2 separate regions of the Homo sapiens genome follow, and region 1 is linked to region 2. The links are contacts of gene promoters, found by promoter capture Hi-C in human tissues and cell types (Jung and others, 2019). All regions are on one chromosome and are shown on one strand. The core of a region is centred on a gene start or on the middle of the fragment in contact, and the rest is flanking DNA. Distances in the headings are between cores, read along the strand shown. Region 1 holds the start of KRT16 (keratin 16). Region 2 holds the start of KRT34 (keratin 34).

Evidence for each region. The method cuts DNA at HindIII sites, captures the fragments that hold promoters and counts their contacts. A contact is called where the count stands out against the background at its distance.
Region 1: the fragment with the promoter of KRT16 here is called in contact with the fragment with the promoter of KRT34 in region 2 in 3 of the 25 tissues and cell types used here (heart left ventricle, mesendoderm cells and thymus).

What each region holds. Positions count from the first base shown.
Region 1 is chr17:41,611,517-41,617,089 of GRCh38, reverse strand. It overlaps KRT16 (keratin 16), which reads left to right and starts at 4,323. Exons shown (of 8, transcript NM_005557.4): 1 at 4,323-4,932; 2 at 5,369-5,451. The coding sequence starts at 4,402. RefSeq lists an enhancer at 2,744-3,292. The HindIII fragment of the contact is 12,932 bases long and covers 1-5,573 here.
Region 2 is chr17:41,378,058-41,383,570 of GRCh38, reverse strand. It overlaps KRT34 (keratin 34), which reads left to right and starts at 1,265. Exons shown (of 7, transcript NM_001386014.1): 1 at 1,265-1,672; 2 at 1,776-1,858; 3 at 2,359-2,515; 4 at 3,840-4,001; 5 at 4,093-4,218; 6 at 4,395-4,615; 7 at 5,425-5,513. The coding sequence starts at 1,325. The coding sequence ends at 5,512. RefSeq lists an enhancer at 1,073-2,272. The HindIII fragment of the contact is 11,267 bases long and covers 1-5,513 here.

The sequences.
Region 1 (5,573 bases), core at 3,074-5,573, 230 kb before region 2:
CAGGGGGAGATGAGTGTCCCCCACTACATCCATCTCCCTGCAGGACATCCTGCCAGGGGAAGGAGGAGACACCGGTCCTGACCCCAAGAGATAGTGCCTGCCCCGAGGGGACCTGAGGGACTGAAAACAGTCCCTCAGCCTTTATGCAGTGTGGGTCTCTTGTGGCAACCCAGGTTTTGGGGAGATGAGGGGAACAGAGGGAACAGAGCCAGGCAGGTCTCCCCCCATGCACAGAGCTGAGGGGATAACTGAGCTGGACAGAGGCCCGTCCTCACCCTGAGCTGTAGTGACCATTTGAAGAAACATCCCTGAGAGAGGCCCACTCTTTCTCCCACAACCCCCTGGGGTCCGCAGCCTTCCCTGGAGGCACCAGCTTCCTGCTCACATTCCTGGGGTGGGGGCAATGGGAGCCCCTCTTGTGGGTTTCCTGAGACTCACACAGGAGTCCGGGCTCCTTGTTTGTGCAGAACAGGCACCCCAAGTGGGCCCAGGCTGCTGAGGACATGTGCCTGGGCTGGACTGGAGACCCAGCTATGGGACTCATGGAGGGACTCACAGTTCGTCCACACCCACCCTGCCCAATGCACAGAATGTTTCACCCCATCATCAAGGCAGAAGCTGCAGATCTGTGGTTGGATTGTGAAGGGCTATGACAGCCCCACCTTCAGAAGGGGGGCATCAAACATGCAGGAGGGGATAGGAGCCCCAGAGGTGGGCCTGGCACTCACAGATTTCCCCAGATCCCGGGAGCCGTCACAGGGGCAGAGCCTGGGCCTGGACATTTGTTCTCCCCCAGGGACCCTGCTCTCTCTGTTTCTCTGCAGGGCCCCAGTACCCCATCGTGGCCTGACATTAGTGTATTGGGATTGTCTTTACCACCTTCTCCCCCAGAAGACTGTGTCTCCAGGGCTTCTCTGTCTTGTTCTTTGAGTCTGAGTGCCCAGCACAGTGCCAGGCACATAGTAGGCACTTTATAAACACCTGCTCATAAACATAACGCTAGCCACCAGCCTTTTCCAGGTGCTTTATTTATTTGGCCTCGAATCCCCTAATATGCCTGTGAGGCAAGGCTGTTATTCCCATTTCCCAGAGAAGGAAACTGAGGCTCAGAGAGGCTGAATGTCCTGCCCAAGATTTCGCCCCTGCTTGCCCCGATTCTAGGCTGCTCTGTCCTGGCTCAGTGGGGCTCTACTTTTCCTTCCTCCTGCCCTGAAGCCTGTGGCTCTGGCTTGTCCACCCGAGGCTGGGGGCCCTGCAGCAGCCCCCTCTCTCCCCTCAGCTTCTCTGCCCCCCTCCTTAGCCCCCAAGCTGCCTCCTGCCTTCCCAGTCTGAGTTGGCTGGGGAGCTTGTAAAACAGCCCCACCAGCAGGCTTGTCCTGAGCGGTGCTGATGCGGGAGTTGGAGCAGGGCTGCAAATCTTCATGGGGACTCTGACGATCTGTCTGGTTGGAGAATCACTGCAAGTCAAGGCGTGGCATTGGCCAATGGTGTTTCCCGGCTGCCTCAGGTATGCCATGATCTCATGCCTCATGCTTGACATGGGCAGTACGAAGGAGGGAGGAAGGAGGCAGGGTGTGGGGAGGAATCCTCTGCCTGGAGGATGCCCACTGGGCTTCTCTGTGCTCACCAGGCTTAGTGGTCCTGGCTCTTGGCCACCTTGGGGCAGGTGTGCATCACTGGTGCACAGGAAACGCCTCCTCCTCCTCCTCTGTCAACTCAGATCCTCTGAGGCCCTGCTGGTGCCTCTCTCTGCTAGGACCCTTTCAGGGATCAAGGCCAGGAGGGCAGCCCCCTCCTCTACTGCTGAGGCTCAGCGGGGCAATGCCTACCCCAGCTGCCTCCTGTGGTGTGGGCATGGCAGGCAAGCCCAGCACCCCAGGGTTTCTAGCCAGGTTCTGTATTTTCCAGCATTAGTTTTCCCTCCAGGGTCAAATGATAAGTTCTTCTAAGGTCAGAGACTATGTCATCATCTCCCTCTTCACCCCCAGCCCCCGAGAGCTGTACACACAGCAGGTGCGTGATCTATGGAGTTGGCTGAGCAGTTTGGCGCGTTGGTCAGCAACTTCCTGCAGCTTCTCAGCCCATGCAGATCCCCAGGTCTGCAGTGCTGGGCTTGTGTATAATCCCGCCCTGACACCTCCTGGAATGGGGAACTTGGTGGGGGGCAGTGAGCCAATGAGAAAGGGGTGTGTGTGCATGCACACACGATGGGGGCAGAGAGTGAAGAGTTCTCAGAGACTCTACTACGAGAGTCGGTGTGAATCCTGGCTTGGGAGTTAGAGCTGGCTCGAGTCTCTGCTCTCTCACTTTTGTGCTGCTTAACCTGGATAAGGCTTTCGCTCTCTCCAGTTGGGGTATTAATAGCCTTTGGTGACCTTGAAGACCATTTTCAGTTCTGAGGGTGATGGGTCTGTGGATGGACCAGAACTCCAGGCCCAACCTGACACCTGAACACTGAGGTTTTTGTCCAAGATTCCGGGGTCCCCTTTGCCCCTTTTTGGGGTAGGGGTGAGGAGTGTCAGGTTCCCTCTCCCAGGTTTGACTCTGAAGGGATGTGCATCCGTTCTGCTCTTACCTCTGGGATGAATGACCAGGGGAGATGTAGCAGTGACAAAACCCTGGTTCTGCTGAGACAAGGAATTGCCTGCCCCAGTGGAGCTCAGGCAGAAGCAGGCTGTCTCTGGGCTCCTCACCTCAACAGAGACACTGCAGAGCAAGGCCAGTGGCCAGCACCGAGGGATGCCCCACAGCACCCTGAGGAGGCCCCGTCTTGGTGCCCAGACCCCTCCATCCTCCCTCCAGTCCTCGGTGCTGGACCAGGCTCTCAGGCCAAGGCCATGCCCACCATGGGCAGACCTCCTGCCAGTGATCGTGGGGAGGTGGGTGAGAGTTGGGTATACTGGCCCCGCCTGCAGGCATGGTGGGAGCCTGGAGAGGGCCAGAGTTCTGGGTTCTAGTTGCAGCTCTGCAGCTTAAAGCAGAGTGACTTTGAGTGAATCTCTACGCTCACAGAACTGTATGGCACACACTGGGCTCTCCATGCATGCCTGAGTGGGCCCATAACCAGTGCTCTCCCCCAGCTCAGCTGGATGAATGGAGCTGCCAGGCCTAGCCTGGGATCTGTGGACACAGGAGAGAGAACTGCTGGGAACGGATCCCCGGCTAGTCCTGTTTCTACAGGGTAGGGGGGGACTCTGAGGCCCAGGTGGGGTCAGGGGTCATACCTGGCTGTAGTGGCAGGATGGGGCTCCCTCCCACCAGCCTGCAGGTGGGGTGCCTGTGATTAGGAGAGGGCGGTAGAGGAGTGGCAGAGCTAGGTGTGGGGCTGTGGTGTTCTTCAGCTGGGAGTGTGGGGGGCGCAGGGCCCTGCTTAGGGGTGCGGGATGGTGCCAGTGTGTAGAGGTGAGTGTGAGGAGCAGGTGGCTGGAGGGGCAGGATGGGGAGGCTGAGGGGCAGGGCTGGCCCTCGGGGAAGGGCCGGTGGGGTCCTTCGCGCATGTTTCTTTGTGGCTAGTGGTGTGTCATCCCCTTTTACAGATGAGAAAACTGAGGACCAAGGGGCTATAGGACCAGCCTGTGCTGTACAGTTGGTAAGGGCAGAGCAGGGACTCAGTGCCGCCTGTCTAGCTCCATGGCCAGTGCTGTTTGTATGGTGCACACACTTCTGGAGATCCCGGGGGCTCAAGGCAGCCTCTGGAACTGGAATTAGATCCAAGAGGGGAAAGAGAGTTATAGGATTTTTAGAACAGAAGGGACTCTGCAGTCACCCAGTCCAGCCTGGTCACTGAGGGGAAACAGGCCCAGAGGTGGGAGGTGGGGAGCCTCAGGCCACACAGCAAGCAGAGTGAAGACAGGAACTCTGCCCCTGCCCAGAGTGGGACATGTGGGATCCCCACAACTGCTCCCCAAGACAGCCCAGGATGGCATCACTGAGCTCTCTTTCAGCCAAGGCTGTCACTGTGGGGCAGGGAGTTCTTCTGAAGGGCTGACTCACTGCCTGGGGACGCAGTTGCCACAAAGCCACCTGTGCCAAGGCCCGACTGGCCCCGAGGGCTCCAGGAAAGGGAGCCTGATTCCCCACCGCCTAGCCTGAGTCACCACCGAACTCGCATTTCTGTGTTTTTCTCTCGGCCCCACACCCCCAAAGCTGGGTGGGAACTCTGAGCCGGCACACAGCAGAGTTGATCCTGGGCTGAATAATCCAGAGTGAGGAGTTGGACGGGACCGGGAGTGATGAAATCCAGAGGGGAACCTGGAGTCAGCAGTTAGGAGGGCCCCGCCTTCCCCAGCTGCATATAAAGGTCTCTGGGGTTGGAGGCAGCCACAGCACGCTCTCAGCCTTCCTGAGCACCTTTCCTTCTTTCAGCCAACTGCTCACTCGCTCACCTCCCTCCTTGGCACCATGACCACCTGCAGCCGCCAGTTCACCTCCTCCAGCTCCATGAAGGGCTCCTGCGGCATCGGAGGCGGCATCGGGGGCGGCTCCAGCCGCATCTCCTCCGTCCTGGCCGGAGGGTCCTGCCGTGCCCCCAGCACCTACGGGGGCGGCCTGTCTGTCTCCTCTCGCTTCTCCTCTGGGGGAGCCTGCGGGCTGGGGGGCGGCTATGGCGGTGGCTTCAGCAGCAGCAGCAGCTTTGGTAGTGGCTTCGGGGGAGGATATGGTGGTGGCCTTGGTGCTGGCTTCGGTGGTGGCTTGGGTGCTGGCTTTGGTGGTGGTTTTGCTGGTGGTGATGGGCTTCTGGTGGGCAGTGAGAAGGTGACCATGCAGAACCTCAATGACCGCCTGGCCTCCTACCTGGACAAGGTGCGTGCTCTGGAGGAGGCCAACGCCGACCTGGAAGTGAAGATCCGTGACTGGTACCAGAGGCAGCGGCCCAGTGAGATCAAAGACTACAGTCCCTACTTCAAGACCATCGAGGACCTGAGGAACAAGGTGGGTGACTTTGGTGTATGGAGCACTGAGAGAGGCTGGGGCTACAGTGGCCCTTGGGATACCTCTTTTTAGCAATTACACTTTACAAACAGGGAGACTGGGCACCTTTGGGGAGTGGCCAGGATCACCCAGGGAAGTGGTAGCAGAGGGTCCCTTTTCAGTATCTCTGTGCCCGGACTGGGGCTGTTACCCTAAATCTCTTATTTCCTTCAAGGGTTCAGCTGCAAGTTCAGCTTCCCTGCCTTGGGCCCAGGAAGGGGGTGATCGGGATGGAGTGCATCCCTACGTAGCCTGAGCTGGTGGAGAAGGCATGCCAGCCCTGCCAGCCAGAAGACTTCCAGATTTGGGGCGGTTCCTTTTGCCCCTTTCTGCCTTTCATGCTCAAGTAGTAAGGTCCTTGGCTGACCAGGGCTCCTGTCCTCCATCCCCACTCCAGATCATTGCGGCCACCATTGAGAATGCGCAGCCCATTTTGCAGATTGACAATGCCAGGCTGGCAGCCGATGACTTCAGGACCAAGTGAGCAGCCAGCATGGTGGGCTGGGGGCAGAGGGCAAGGGACAAAGAGTGGGGCGGTCCACCCAGCAGGGCCAGCAGACCCCGAGCCTCAGAATCCTCAGGGCTGCAGCCTGAGGACCTGA
Region 2 (5,513 bases), core at 16-2,515:
TTCAGTGCTGCCATCTGAACTCTCACTGCTCCAGACTGTTTCCAGCATATTTTTTCTTCTAGATATTTCTACTCTTGCTCATCTTTAGAGAGGCTGTTGCTTTAGTACAAGTTGGCAAATTTTTTAATTTTAGGGCTTTGTGGACACTATAGTCTCTGTCACAACTACACAACTCTGCCACTGTAGCACAAAAGCAGCCATATACAATAGCTAAACAAATGGGCATGGCTGTGTTCCATTAAAACTTTATTTACTGCCGGACGCATTGGCTCACGCCTGTAATCCCAGCACTTTGGGAGGCCGAGGCGGGCGGATCACGAGTTCAGGAGTTCAAGAGCAGCCTGGCCAACATGGTGAAACCCCATTTCTGCTAAAAACACAAAAATTAGCCGGGTGTGGTGGCGGGCACCTGTAATCCCAGCTACTCGGGGGGCTGAGGCAGATAATTGCTTGAACCCGGGAGGTGGAGGTTGCAGTGAGCCGAGATCGTGCCACTGCACTCCAGCCTGGGCGACAGAGTGAGACTCTGTCTCAAAAAAAAAAAAACAGAAAACAAACAAACAAAAACTTTATTTACAAAAATTCAGCAGGGTAAACTTGACGTGTGGGCTGCCATTTGCAGATGCCCTCTTTTAGGTATACTCCCATCCATTCCATTGGTTTCCATTTTACTTTCTCATTTCTCAACCATGAACATGCCATTGTTTTCAGTTGCTCCATGTGTTGGCAAGTTCCCTAAACCCCAACGAATAGTAAGGCTCAGGATCATTTCGGCGAATACAGGTTGAGTTTCTGCTATAAAAACAAATTGAATGCTGAAACATGGATGAATGTGGGAGGAAAGAGCTACTTGGAAGAGTAACTCTCAAAGCTCTCTCTCAGAGCTCTCTCTCTGGGGAGAAAGAACAGTGGCGGAAACTCCTGGGTGAGGAATCCCTGATTCCCAAACAACTCCACCCCATGTCCCTGGCTGTCCTCCCCTCTGAGTAATGCAGACAGCCTTTTGGGGCTGTGATGATTCTATCTCCTATGAAGCCATCTGATGAAACTCTGATTTCACCAACCACTAGCACCCAGGAAGAGCCTGGTGTGACATAAGCTGAATGGAATAATTTTATGGGTTGAGGGGGGACTCTTTAGAAGCATCTAACTAGCATATTTTGGAGAAAAATTAGCTGAAGCATTAGGAAAGGAAACTATGCTGTATGCCAAGCCCCCACCCACAATTAATGGTATAAAAGGACTGCAGAGGAAGGAGAGACTCAAACCTGCCCACATCCACCTCCAGCAGCTTACCTGCTTTTCCATTACCTGTTCCAGCACCATGTCTTACAGTTGTTGCCTGCCCAGCCTGGGCTGCCGCACCAGCTGCTCCTCCCGGCCCTGCGTGCCCCCCAGCTGCCACGGCTACACCCTGCCTGGGGCCTGCAACATCCCCGCCAATGTGAGCAACTGCAACTGGTTCTGTGAGGGCTCCTTCAATGGCAGCGAGAAGGAGACTATGCAGTTCCTGAACGACCGCCTGGCCAGCTACCTGGAGAAGGTGCGTCAGCTGGAGCGGGACAACGCGGAGCTGGAGAAACTCATCCAGGAGCGGTCCCAGCAGCAGGAGCCCTTGCTGTGCCCCAGCTACCAGTCCTACTTCAAGACCATTGAGGAGCTCCAGCAGAAGGTGAGGGGGTTGGCCATATGGGGGGCCAGCAGCAGCTGGCTCTCTTTGAACAGTAAGACATTTTCAAGTTCAAGTGTACCTCATGAGAGAAATTTCTTTTCAGATTCTGTGTGCCAAGGCTGAGAATGCCAGGCTGGTGGTGAACATTGACAATGCCAAGCTGGCCTCTGACGACTTCAGAAGCAAGTATGTTGAACTTCAAGGTCCCTATGGTTCTTTCATGGCCCTAGGGACCTACTATTGCCTGGAAGAGAGGAGAAAGCCATTTCTCTCTATTTCTCCTCCTAGGGCTGGTTATGTAAAATTAGTTTCAAATAGGGAACTAGACTCATGTGCTGCCTGCTCTTTGGTCTATACTGGTTTTTTTTGGAAGTGTTTCTTAAACCACAAAATTCAGAGATTGAAATGAATTGTTCTTTGGGAATTGATTTGGTGGTATATTAGCTAACAAAACCGAGAACACAGTGAGAGACTTCATCTCATGTGTGCCTGTGGGCTCCTCGTGGTGTTAGGTGAGTCAGGGAACCTCTTCAGCCTATCCATGGACAGCTTGACTGAAGCATATGGAAGAGAAGAGGCAGAAAACTGTAAGTTCAAGAAGATTCAGGCCAATTCTACCCAAACAACACATGAGAGGGGAAGGTGGTTTTCTTTCCTGACTTATCCTCCCACTCCGACACGTGCAGGTACCAGACGGAGCAGTCCCTGAGGCTGTTGGTGGAGTCGGACATCAACAGCATACGCAGGATCCTGGATGAGCTGACCCTCTGCAAGTCTGACCTGGAGTCCCAGGTGGAGTCCCTGAGGGAGGAGCTGATCTGCTTGAAGAAGAACCATGAGGAGGTATGAAACAAATTCACAAAAGCAGGCCTCAGAACTAAGCTACTAGCACTGGGAATCAGGAGAGGATTACTGTCTGGATCCCTGGTCTGGGACCCTTCTCTGAGGAACTCAAGATGTTCTCAGAGAGTGACGGTGCTACATCCATATCAAGGAGTGGAGTGAGCTGCTCATTCTTCAGCGGCTGGGTGAGGGTTAGGCAGGTGTTGGAATTACTGAGGAGGGACATCATTCATTGAGCCCTGCTCTCTGCTGATCACTGCTAGGTCCTGAATTTGGTGGTGGAGATGGAGGGACAAAAAAGAAATAAGACATGGCCCTTTTCTTAAAAGAGCTCACAGTCTAGTATAGAAAGACAGTCATATAAACACAGTGATATAAACAAGACAGAGTGAAACAAGTACCATATGAGATGTACAAGCAGTATGCTCTAGAAATAATCCAGGCTGCCCAAGAGGAGATAGGGAACTCTTCTCAGATGCAAAGAGGAGGATTCCAGTACTTGGGTGTTTCAGTCTGAGGGAAGAGGTTGAACAAAGACACAGAAGTGGCAGGGCAGGGTGTATCTGGGTATGGCTGGGCATGCAGTACCTCCAAGGGATGAAAGTGAAGATGTGATGGGAAGCGAGGAAGGACTTGCATATGCCAAGGAGTTTAGACTTAGTCTTGTAGAAGGTGTGAGGTTGTTTCCGTTTCTATGGGACAACAATTGACGTGATCCCTGTTGGAGTTTATTGCTATAAAATGTGTGTGTCACTCTTTGGGAATGATCAGAATCTTCCTTTTAGTGCTTTTTTTTTTTTGACGGAGTCATGCTCTGTCACCAGGCTGGAGTGCAGTGGCGTGATCTAGGCTCACTGTAACATCCGACTCCCTGGTTCAAGTGATTCACTTGCCTCAGCCTCCTGAGTAGCTGGGATTACAGGCACATGCCACCACGCCCAGCTAATTTTTGTATTGTTAGTAGAGATGGGGTTTCACCATGTTGGCTAGGATGGTTTCGATCTCCTGACTTCGTGATCCACCTGCCTCTGCCTCCCAAAGTGCTGGGATTACAGGCTTGAGCCACTGTGCCCGGCCCCTTTTAGTGCTTTCTGGGCAGCATCAAGCTCATTTTCCCAGAGCAGGAAGATGGCACATCTTCCATGGGACAGCAATTGATGTGATCCCTGTTGGAGTTTATTGCTATAAAATGTGTGTGTCACTCTTTGGGAATGATCAGAATATTCCTTTTAGTGCTTTTTGGGCAGTATTGTGCTCATTTCCCTGGAGCAGGAAAATGGCAGATCCATTGCCGTAGGTTCATTGTTTCCCTTTTCTCCAACAGGAGGTTAACACCCTGCGCTCCCAGCTTGGAGACCGCCTCAACGTGGAGGTGGACACTGCCCCCACTGTGGACCTGAACCAGGTCCTGAACGAGACCAGGAGTCAGTATGAGGCTCTGGTGGAAATTAACCGCAGGGAAGTGGAGCAATGGTTCGCCACGCAGGTGGGCATCTAAGCACATGGCCACTCAGGACCCGAGGTGCCCCAGGGCCCTGGAGACAGGGTCTGATCCTTTCCCCACTTGGGTGTTTCAGACCGAGGAGCTGAACAAGCAGGTGGTATCCAGCTCAGAGCAGCTGCAGTCCTGCCAGGCGGAGATCATCGAGCTGAGACGCACAGTCAACGCCCTGGAGATCGAGCTGCAGGCCCAGCACAACCTGGTGTGTATTGTTCAGACCTGCTGGTGAGCGATGGGAACTTGGGAGGCAGAGTCCCGGGGATGTGCTTGGGGCCACACACTCTCCTTAGCTCTTGGAGCTTGTGACTTCCTTGTAATCCTGTGAAGAAACCCTTTGAAGGAGCAGCTCTCTGACATTCCTGATCTTCCCCACCACAGCGAGACTCTCTGGAAAACACGCTGACGGAGAGCGAGGCCCACTACAGCTCCCAGCTGTCCCAGGTGCAGAGCCTGATCACCAACGTGGAGTCTCAGCTGGCAGAGATCCGCTGTGACCTGGAGCGGCAGAACCAGGAGTACCAGGTGCTGCTGGACGTGCGTGCCCGGCTGGAGTGTGAGATCAACACGTACCGGAGCCTCCTGGAGAGTGAGGACTGCAAGTGAGTATGGGGCAAATAATGTCTGGGAAGAATGTGTACAGTGGGATATTGTAGGCACACAAATGGTGGCCATGTTTTCAACTAGTCAGGCAACACACATTAACTGTGTAGCATGTGTCCAGTGATCTGTGATAGCTAAGCAAAGGGAGGCCAAAGGTAAGGGAACAGCCCCTATCTCAGGGGGCTAACAATGGAGGAGTGGTGGCAGGAGCTGGCCAGTTGTAGGAATAACATTTGTGTAAGGCACATTAAGTTCCAGGAGACCTCAAGAGTATGAGATAATATTTTTGAAAAGCACAATTTTTCCACCTCTGCACATGGCATTCTGGGAGAGAGAGAAGGGTTTGGTAGTAATCAGAACTTGATTCTGGCTGGGTGCAATGGCTCATGCCTATAATCCACTTTGGGAGGTTGAGGTGGGTGGATCACTTGAGGTCAGGAGTTCAAGACCAGCCTGGCCAACATGGTGAAACCCCATCGCTACCAAAAATACAAAAAATTAGCCAGGCATGGTGACGCATGCCTGTGATCCTAACTACTTGGGAGGCTGAGGCAGGAGAATCGCTTGAACCTGGGAGGCATAGTGAGCCTTGGCTCCCACTTGCAGTGAGCCAAGATCGCACCACTGCACTCCAGCCTAGGCAACAGAGCAAGACCCTGTCTCAAAAACAAAACAAAACAAAACAAAAAGAACTTGATTCCAACTAACTCCAGCCACTGAGAATTCATAGGTTGTGTCATTAAGCCCAAGGTATTGTGTGCATTAAAACCTCCTCCTAAAGCCATTCTAAACCTCCTTGTCCTCCTAGGCTCCCCTGCAACCCATGCGCCACCACCAATGCTAGTGGCAACTCCTGTGGACCCTGTGGCACCTCTCAAAAGGGTTGCTGTAATTGAA